2 separate regions of the Homo sapiens genome follow, and region 1 is linked to region 2. The links are contacts of gene promoters, found by promoter capture Hi-C in blood cells and fetal thymus (Javierre and others, 2016). All regions are on one chromosome and are shown on one strand. The core of a region is centred on a gene start or on the middle of the fragment in contact, and the rest is flanking DNA. Distances in the headings are between cores, read along the strand shown.

Evidence for each region. The method cuts DNA at HindIII sites, captures the fragments that hold promoters and counts their contacts. A CHiCAGO score of 5 or more calls a contact.
Region 1: a fragment that was not itself captured here is called in contact with the fragment with the promoter of H4C11 in region 2 in 1 of 17 cell types (naive CD8 T cells); the score reaches 5.1 in naive CD8 T cells.

The regions. Positions count from the first base shown.
Region 1 is chr6:27,113,040-27,118,421 of GRCh38, reverse strand. No RefSeq gene overlaps it. Among named protein-coding and RNA genes, the nearest start is that of H2BC11, 17 kb to the left of the region's middle. RefSeq lists an enhancer at 3,112-3,211. The HindIII fragment of the contact is 4,621 bases long and covers 1-4,069 here.
Region 2 is chr6:27,822,310-27,827,677 of GRCh38, reverse strand. H4C11 (H4 clustered histone 11) reads right to left here and starts at 3,586. Exons shown (of 1, transcript NM_021968.4): 1 at 3,198-3,586. The coding sequence starts at 3,553. The coding sequence ends at 3,242. RefSeq lists enhancers at 864-1,507, 1,508-2,149, 2,792-3,433, 3,727-3,866. The HindIII fragment of the contact is 1,481 bases long and covers 3,010-4,490 here.

The DNA of each region.
Region 1 (5,382 bases), core at 510-3,009, 710 kb after region 2:
AAACAACCCAATTAAATAAGTGGGCAAAAGATATGAACAGACACTTCAAAGAAAACATATTGTTAGCAAATAAGCACAGGAAAATACTTTGAATATCAGTCATTTGGGAAATGCAAACTAAAATCACAATCAAATACCACTACACATCTATTAGAATGCCTAAAATTTAAAAGACTGAGGGTGAAGTATTGGAAAGGACATAGCGGAATTGGAACTCTTATAAATTTGTCCTATGCATGTAAATACTATGGAAAACATTTTGACAGGTTCTTAAAAAGTTAATCATATAACTAATGTTGTTAATCATACTACCATATGATTCAGCCATGGCACTTCTAGGTATCTACTCAAGAGAAAAGGAAATATGTGTCCATATAAAGATTTGTACAAAAATACTCATAGCAGCTTTATTTGTATTAGTTAAATCTGGAAATAATCCAAATGTTCATCAATAGATGAATGGCTAAAATATTGTGGTATATCCCTGCAAAGAAATACTATTAAGCAACAAAAGAAACAAACTGTTGATTCAAAATATGTTACTCTTCTTTTTCTTTTTGTTTGAGATGGAGTCTCACTTTGTCACCCAGGCTGGGGCACAGTGGTGCAATCATAGCTCGCTGTAGCCTTGAACTTCTGGGTTCAAACCATCCTCCTGCCTCAGCCTCCTGAGTAGCTGGGACTATAAGTGTGTGCCACCACACCCAGCTAATTTTTAGAAATTTTTTTGTGGAGACGAGGGGTTGTGGGGGGGTGGTGCAGTTTCTCACTATTGCCCAGGCTGGTCTTGAACTAGTGGTCTCAAGTGATCCTTCCACCTAGGCCTCCCAAAGCACTGGGATTACAGTGTTAGCCACTGTGCCCAGCCTAAAATATGTTAGTTTTTTGTTGCTGCAAAATACATTAGCACAAACTTCAGGGTCTCAAAACAACATACGTTTATTATCTCAGGATAATAAATGATCAGGAGTCTGGGCATGACTTAGTTAGGTCTTTTGCTTAGGGTCTCACAAGACTAATTGAAGTGTCCCACCAGGATGCATTCTCATCTAGACACTTGACTGGGGAAGAATCCATGTCCAAGCTCACTCAGGTTGTTGGCGGAATTCATTTCCTTGCAGCTTTAGGTATGAGGACACCCGCTTCTTGCTGGTTGCTGGCTGGAAGACGCCTTTAATTCTGAGAGGCTGCCCGCACTTCCTAGAGGAGCTTGAAGCTCCTGGCCATGTGGACTTTCCCCACACGACCACTTACATCATGAAACCAGCAAGGACTGCTGAGTAAATAATTATGCTGAGTAAAAGAAACTGATCAAAATACAGTACATACTGGATTCTATTTTTACAAAACTAGAAAATACAAACTAATCTACAGTGACAAAGGTTAGATCAGTGGTTCCTTTGAGTTGGGGGACAAAGTGAGATAGGAGAAAGGTATTACAAAGGGGGACAAGTACATTTTAGAGGTGATAAGTTCACTTTTTTTTTTTTTTTTTTGAGACAGAGTGTTGCTCTGTTGCCCAGGCTCGAGTGCAATGGCGTGATCTTGGCTCCCTGCCATCTCTGCCTCCCGGGTTCAAGTGATTCTCCTGCTTCAGCCTCCTGAGTAGTTGGGATTACAGGCATATGCCACCATGCCCGGCTAATTTTTGTATTTTTAGTAGAGATGGGGTTTCACCATGTTAGTCAGGCTGGTCTCGAACTCCTGACCTCAGGTGATTCGCCCGCCTCGGCCTCCTGAAGTGCTGGGATTACAGGCGTGAACCACTGTGCCCAGCAAGTTCAGTGTCTTGATTAGGGTAACGGGTTCATATGAATACTTATGTCACACTCATTAACATGTATACTTTATGTGCAGTTTATCATATGCCAATTATACTTTAGCAAAACTATTTTTAAAAGCAAAAATGTAAAAAAAAAAAAAAGTAATTCTAAAAAAAAATGATAAAATTACACCCACAGCCCATTCTGTTGTTCTTCCTACTTCTGCCTCCCAATAGTGGCAGTCAGAGGGGAAGAAGGAGGACCCCAGGTCACAAGCAGCAGAGATGAATATATCTCAGTGGTTTGTGATGGTCTTGTCTTGTCTGAATGTACTCACATCTGAAACTCCATAGATCACAAAAGAATATGAAGTCATTGGCCATAACTGGATGCAGACTCATATTCACTGTGAAAATACAACAACATGGGATACGGAATAATGAAAAGAATTAAAAAATTTAATAATGACACTAACAAGAGTAAAACAACTTTAAATAATTGATCATTGGTCTCACTGTACTAAGTTCTTTATAAATAGTCATATACTTAATCTTGAAAAGAATTTTCCAAAGTGAGGTAGGAGATCAGCAGGACTTCTTTTCCAAGCACCGGTAATGACCATGCTGATCAAAAACAGGATGCAGTAAAAAAAAAACAACAAAAAAACCTCAGCAGAGTGGTGGCTCACACCTATAATCCCAGTGCTTTGAGAGGCTGAGGTGGGAGGATCCCCTGAGCCTAGAAGTTCGATATCAGCTGGGCAACATAGTGAGAACTCCATCCCTAAAAATGTAAGTTAAAAAAAAATTAGCGAGACATGGTGGCCTACATGTGTAGTCTCAGCTGCTTGTGGGGCTGAGGTGGGAGGATTGCTTGAGCCTGGGAGATCAAGGCAGCAGTGAGCTACGATTGTGCCACTGCACTCCAGCTGGGGCGACAGAGCAAGACCCTGTCTCAAAAACAAAAAACCCTGGCTGGGTGCAGTGGCTCACACCTGTAATCACAACACTTCAGGACGCTGATGTGGGCAGATCACCTAAGGTCAGGAGTTCGAGACCAGCCTGGCCAATATGGTGAAACCCCATCTCTACTAAAAATACAAAAATTAGCTGGGCATGGTGGCATGCACCTGTAATACCAGCTACTAGGGAGGCTGAGGCATGAGAATTGCTTGAACCCGGGAGGTGGAGGTTGCAGTGAGTCAAGATCGAGCCACTGCACTCCAGCCTGGGCAATAGAGCCAGACTCAGTCTCAAACAAAACAAAACAAAACAGCTGGCTGAAACCAGCAGATGGTGACAAAGCAACCTCTAGTTGCCCTCACAGCTCATTAGAATAAAGACACTCCCATCGGCGCCATGACAGTTTACAAATGCCATGGACATGACTCAGAAGTTACCCTATAGGGTTCTGGGAGCTCCCCCCACCCCTTTTCTAGAAAATTCTGAATAACACACTACTTAATTAGCATATAATTAATAGTGGGTATAAATATAGCTAGCCTGTGTGCTTTACTGTGGCTCTTTCTTCAGTTCTGGCTCCTGCTCTGACTCCTGCTCTGGACTGCTCCTGTTGCTGAACACTGCTCCTGCCCTTCCTGTCTGTTCTACTGGTGGAGCATCCACTTTGCTGTACACTGCTATTCTGGGCTGTTCTGCCTGTGGGTTAGTTGTGCTTTCTGCAGCATCCACCTTGCTGTACACAGTTGCTGTAGGCTTCTCTGCCTATGGGTTAGCCTTGCTTTGTGGAGCACCCGCTTTGCTGTACTATGCTGCTACTCTGGGATGCTCTATGGGTGAGCCTTGCTCTGTGGAGCACCTATTATGCTGCATGCTGCTACTCTGGGCTGCTCTGCCTGTGCGTTAGCTTGTGCTGTGTGGAGCGCCCACTTTGCTGCATGCTGCTACTTGGCTGCTCTGCCTGTGGGTTAGCTTGTGCTCTGTGGAGCACCCACTTTTCTGTATACTACTACTACAGGCTGTGCTGCCTGTGGGTTAGCACACAGGTCGCCCTTTGTTTATGGAGCAGTTTGCTGTACACTATTGGTCTAGGAAGTGTTTTTAAATTAACTCTGAAGCCAAAAGCCCTCCAGGGTTAAGTCCCAATTTTGGGGTTCACCTGTGTCAGCCTGGTGACCCTGAAGGAAGGAACCATCAAAATGAAGAGACCATGAAGGGAGCATCAAGATGAGCGGGTTGACCATCAAGATAAAGTTTGGAGTTGTGATACTGTAATGCTATATACTAGCCAAAGGCTCTTTTCAGAGCCATGTTTTCTTGGTGACTAACTGGTTGTACACTGAAGCTTTGGAAACCTTTGCCTGGACCCAAATTAATGGCCAATTGGCACCATGTGGTTTCTGTGATTTCCCTGTCATATTGACCTTTCTGGGTAAACCAGGAAATGAAAGTGGGGCCTCCAGCTAGTCCCATGTTCAGATTATGTCCCCATTGCCCCGTTTTTGACCATCGTCTATTAAATCTCTAATGACTGGCTACTTGATATTACCATTCAGTTCCTAAATGCATGGTTGTATGTCAGAGCCATGTTCCTTCTAGGATTGGGTTAGAGTCCCACTCTAGGGGGAATTTATTGGGTTATTGTCAGTCCCACTCTACGTGGCGTTAGAATTGAGAGTCCTGCCCTAGGGGCTTTGTTTTTTGGTCACCTTTCTAAGATTGGGGTTTAAATTTCCACTAAGGGTTCTTAATTTGGTCAGCGTTTTTTTACTTCCATACTTAAAGTGCCTTCTTTGTAACATTCCATTAGCTAGTGATGGTAGTTGCCAGCCCACTGCCCACTCATCTTTCACTTTTGTGGCACCTACTTCTTGATACCCATGTTCTTTTGGCAGGAGTCAGTGGTAATTTCCCTACTGCTCTTGAAGAAAAGGGAGGTGGAAATTTGAAAGGAAAAGTAACTGGACTCTCTGGACTTGGAAGAATTTCTGGGTTTAGTAGGTATCTCTGGTAGACATAACAACAGTGAGCGTCCTGAAACACTTCCTGCTAGGGTGCCTTTTAGGCAACTAAAGCAAATTCAAATTTGATGTCTTAAAAACTCATCTTCTATTATAACAGTGTTTAGTACAAATTAATTTCCCAAGAAATTTGGCCTAAAAATGGTTCACTCTCCCTGGAGCCTCCTTGGTGCCTTAATATGAGGAAGGGGGTCCTGCCAGTTCTCCACTACAGGATTCCATCCCAAGTTCATCAGGCACCCCTCTGCTTTAACCAACTAGCTCCAGCCTATATGCCATACTGCCTGAGGAAATAAGTCCAACCAGTCTAATCAGGAGTGATAAAGTCCTATCAGCCCTTAAAATCAAACTTACATCTATTGTGAGAGGTTGAGACGTTGCTAATGGCGGGAACAGTACTTGTGCCTTTTTCCATGTCTGATTTAGCTTCATGCAAGGGAAACATTGGCTGGTATCAGAGGATCCAGGGAAGTTTATAGTTTGATGTAACTTGGCATGACTTGCAAATAGTGTCCACCTGCTGTGCTGTAGAGGAGAAACAAGGGATTTTTGAATACTGCCTGGGCATATGCTGATGGAATGGCTGCTTGTAACCAGGATCATGCCATTTATTGTATGTGGGAGTGTACTTCCAGATTT
Region 2 (5,368 bases), core at 2,337-4,836:
CTGAGAAGTGAGGAGCCTCTCCACCCGGCAGCCACCCCGTCTGGGAAGTAAGGAGCGTCTCCGCCCGGCAGCCACCCCGTCCTGGAGGGAGGTGGGGGGGTCAGCCCCCCGCCAGGCCAGCCGCCCCGTCCGGGAGGGAGGTGGGGGCGTCAGCCCCCCGCCCGGCCAGCCGTCCCGTCCGGGAGGGAGGTGGGGGGGTCAGCCCCCCGCCCGGCCAGACGCCCCGTCCGGGAGGTGAGGGGCGCCTCTGCCCGGCCGCCCCTACTGGGAAGTGAGGAGCCCCTCTGCCCAGCCAGCCGCCCCGTCCGGGAGGGAGGTGGGGGGATCAGCCCCCCCGCCCGGCCAGCCGCCCAGTCCGGGAGGGAGGTGGGGGGGTCAGCCCCCCGCCCGGCCAGCTGCCCCGTCCGGGAGGTGAGGGTCGCCTCTGCCCGGCCGCCCCTACTGGGAAGTGAGGAGCCCCTCTGCCCAGCCAGCCGCCCCGTCCGGGAGGGAGGTGGGGGGAATCAGCCCCCCGCCCGGCCAGCCGCCCCGTCCGGGAGGGAGGTGGGGGGGTCAGCCCCCCGCCCGGCCAGCCGTCCCGTCCGGGAGGGAGGTGGGGGGGTCAGCCCCCCGCCCGGCCAGCCGCCCCGTCCGGGAGGTGAGGGGCGCCTCTGCCCGGCCGCCCCTACTGGGAAGTGAGGAGCCCCTCTGCCCGGCCAGCCGCCCCATCCGGGAGGGAGGTGGGGGGGTCAGCCCCCAACCCGGCCAGCCGCCCCGTCCGGGAGGGAGGTGGGGGGGTCAGCCCCCCGCCCGGCCAGCCGCCCCGTCCGGGAGGTGAGGGGCGCCTCTGCCCGGCCGCCCCTACTGGGAAGTGAGGAGCCCCTCTGCCCGGCCGGCCGCCCCGTCCGGGGGGGAGGTGGGGGGGTCAGCCCCCCGCCCGGCCAGCCGCCCCATCCGGGCCGTGAGGGGTGCCTCTGCCCGGCCACGGCCCCGTCTGGGAGGTGTGCCCAGCAGCTCATTGAGAACGGGCCAGGATGACAATGGCGGCTTTGTGGAATAGAGAGGGGAGAAAGGTGGGGAAAAGATTGAGAAATCGGATGGTTGCCGTGTCTGTGTAGAAGGAGGTAGACATGGGAGACTTTTCATTTTGTTCTGTACTAAGAGAAGTTCTTCTGCCTTGGGATCCTGTTGATCTGTGACCTTACCCCCAACCCTGTGCTCTCTGAAACATGTGCTGTGTCAAACTCAGGGTTAAATGGATTAAGGGCGGTGCAAGATGTGCTTTGTTAAACAGATGCTTGAAGGCAGCATGCTCCTTAAGCGTCATCACCACTCCCTAATCTCAAGTACCCAGGGACACAAACACTGCAGAAGGCCACAGGGACCTCTGCCTAGGAAAGCCAGGTATTGTCCAAGGTTTCTCCCCATGTGATAGTCTGAAATATGGCCTCTTGGGAAGGGAAAGACCTGACCGTCCCCCAGCCCGACACCTGTAAAGGGTCTGTGCTGAGGAGGATTAGTATAAGAGGAAGGCATGCCTCTTGCAGTTGAGACAAGAGCAAGGCAACTGTCTCCTGTCCGTCCCTGGGCAATGGAATGTCTCGGTATAAAACCCGATTGTACGTTCCATCTACTGAGATGGGGAAAAACCGCCTATCTCACCTATCACCGCCTATCACCACTCCCCAATCTCAAGTACCCAGGGACACAAACGCTGCGGAAGGCCGCAGGGTCCTCTGCCTAGGAAAACCAGAGACCTTTGTTCACTTGTTTATCTGCTGACCTTCCCTCCACTATTGTCCTATGACCCTGCCAAATCCCCCTCTGTGAGAAACACCCAAGAATGATCAATAAAATAAATAAATAAATAAATAAATAATTGTTTTTCATGTAAAATACAATTTTTTTCCCTTAACAAAAATTCAAATTAAAAAAAAAGTATGATTACAATTCCTTTGTGGTAATTACTTGGACTACAGAGTTTTGTACTTTTGCTTCAACTGAATCAATGCGACTATTATTGTCCTTCCAGATCTTTTGATGTCACCAATGACACATCCATCATTTTCATCATCATAACAATAAGTGACTGAACCTCACCAAAAAGAAAACAAAAAATAGCTTTTACTCACTAGATTCCATTTATGAATTTAAACTCAAATCAAGTGTCCAATGCCAGATGAATGGATAAGGAAAATGGGGCATATATACAATGAAATACTACTCAGCCTTAAAATAAATCTTGTCATTTCTTATAGATGAAACTGGAGACCATTATGCAAAGTAAAACAAACTAGGCACAGAAAAACAAAAACTGCGTGATCTCACTTACATGAGGAATCTAAAAATGTTGAACTGAGTAAAATTGTCATTGCCAGAGAACAAGGATGGAGGTAACAATGGGACTCGGGAGGTATAAATACTGGAGATCTACTTTAAAGCATGGTGATAATAGTTAATGTACTTGATACTGGAAAATTGCTGATAGGCCTTAAATGTTCTCACCACAGAAAGTGAGGTGGATGTTAAGCTCGATGTAATCATTACACAATGAATATATGTCAGATCAGATTGTACATGTAAGTTGTCATACCTTAATGAGGGTGGAGGAAAGTAAAAAATTATCTTAAAATTCTTTAAGAGGTCGCACTTTGAGAGGCCAAGGCGGGCGGATCGCGAGGTCAGGAGATCGAGACCATCCTGGCCAACATAGTGAAACCCCATCTCTACTAATACAAAAATTAGCTGGGTGTAGTGGCGCAAAACTGTAATCCCAGCTACTCGGCAGGCTGAGGCAGGAGAATCGCTTGAACCCAGGAGGCGGAAGTTGCAGTGAGCCGAGATCGCGCCGCTGCACTCCAACTCGCAGACAAAGACGAAACAAAAAAAACCCACAAATACTTGTGGATTTGGAGGCTTTTCAAAAACGATTTCCGATTACCACTGTCAAGCTCACTACGGGGGTTACATAAACGTTTCTGGTACTGCACATTCTGTGTACGAGTATTTTCTCCATTACGTAAACAAGCTTACGAATTTTGAGCAAGTTTAGACATTACATCTCGTAATTAGTCCTGCCTACAGTGACCCCGGGTGAATGGCCACACGTGTGCCGCTGTGTTCAAAAAACTGTTCCCCCCAGAACTGACTCAGAACCAAGCAAAATTCCGTACCTACCAAAACCACTCCTCAGTGTTACCACTCTTCAGCTGAGAAAGTAGGGTGGCCCTGAAAAGGGCCTTTTATTGATAGAAAGGGACGCTCAACCACCGAAACCGTAGAGGGTGCGGCCCTGGCGCTTGAGCGCGTAGACCACATCCATGGCGGTGACCGTCTTGCGCTTGGCGTGCTCTGTATAGGTCACGGCGTCCCGGATCACGTTCTCCAGGAACACCTTCAGCACCCCGCGAGTCTCCTCGTAGATGAGGCCGGAGATGCGCTTCACGCCGCCGCGGCGAGCAAGGCGCCGGATGGCCGGCTTGGTGATGCCCTGGATATTGTCGCGCAGTACTTTACGGTGGCGCTTAGCGCCGCCTTTGCCAAGACCCTTCCCGCCTTTGCCGCGGCCAGACATGACGAGCAAGAGGAGTCTCACCCAACGCTTTGTGAGGCCTCTGGCCTGAGGCAGCGCCTTTATACGACAGTTGGCGGACCGAACTGAGAACCTGAAAGAAGTCGGCGGGAAGTCCCGCCCCGGTGGGGGAGGGGAAATCTAAAGGGCCAAACCGAAATAGGGGGGAAAAAAAAGCGAGCTTCTTGTTTCCGTGTTCTGAATTTTGTAATGTGCAAAGTATTCTGTTACCACGTTATGAGGCTTTAAAAAATTGCTTTTGAACGCAGAAGATATACATCAATACTGTGGGGAATACAAAAAAGTGACCGGGCTCGGTGGCTGACGTCTGTGATCCCACCATTTTAGGAGGCCGAGATGGGAGTGTACCTGGGCGTCAGGAGTTTGAGATCTGCGTGAGCAAAATAGCGAGACCCCATCTCTACCAAGACAACAATTAAATTAAATTAAAACATTAGTCCAGCATGATAGCGCTTACACTTTAGGAGACACTCTTTTTTTTAAATATATTAAAAAAAAAAACCAGTACAGTAACAACAGCCTGTTATCCCATCTTCCCATCACACAAAGAGCTCTACTGCTAGCTAATAAGATAATTTGGTGAGCAGATAAATGCACATTTTTTCCCACAAAATGTATGCAGTATATGGCATTTTACAACTTCGCGTTGTTTTAATCAATTTCCCTTATTTAAAAAGTTTACAAAAGTGATTTTAATGTCTTTATTATTTCTTCTCCTGAATTCTGCCTGCTACAGTGTTAACCAATTCCCTAGGAATTTATTAATCAACCAGATTTTTTAAATAATTCATCTTTTCCCTGCGGATTAAGTACCACCTTTAACATTATACATACTCGGAACTATTACCAAAATTCTATTCTGTCTATAATTTAATCAAGGTGGTTTGCCAAAGGGAATCTATGTTCACGGTTAAAAGCTTAGAAAATTCACATTAGGAAAAATTTTAAAAGCAGTAATTTATATCTGCTTAATATTCCATCATAAGAATTTTCTAGGTCCACTTTCACAGTATTTCTAGTACTTAGCAATAATGTGCTAATTTTCTTTTCCTAATTTAAAGGAGAACTGTACAAAATTTACTTCCTGAGGAAAATGTAGAATTGAAGCGCTTTGTCACAAAGGATGCAGATTTTAAGGTATTTTGATAACTGTTACTACATTTTCCTCAAAAGTTTTATTCCATTCACTTTTGCCAGCAGTAACTGCTGTGTATGTTTACCAGCATTGAGTATTATGGTTTTTAAATTCTATGTTACATTCAGAATTTACTTTTAGTTTTGTTGATTGAGTCTTGAGTTAATGAACTAGTTACCCAGCAAGATTTATTGATTTGTTTATAAGTAATAAATTGTCATCTTTAATATAAGCTTGTTTAGGCCGGGCGCGCTGGCTCATGCCTGTAATCCCAGCACTTAGGGAGGCTGAGGCAGGCAGGTCACTTAAAGTCAGGACTTCGAGACCAACCTGGCCAACATGGTGAAACCCCGTCTTTACTAAAAATACAAAAATTAACTGGGCGTGGTGTCACATACCTGTAATATTAGCTACTCAGGAGGGTGAGGCAGGAGAATCTCTTGAACCTGGGAAGCGGCGCTTACATTGAGCCGAAATCACACCACAGCACTCCAGGCTAGACAACTGAGTGAGACTCCATCTCAAAAAAAAAGAAAAGAAAAGAAAAGAAAAAAACAATAAGAAACCTAAAAATTTTATTTTTTCGTGTAAAAACTGGCCACAAAGAAATTATTTGACTTACCTTGTTTGACTGTAAGTCGTAGGACCTCCGTTCCAGAGAG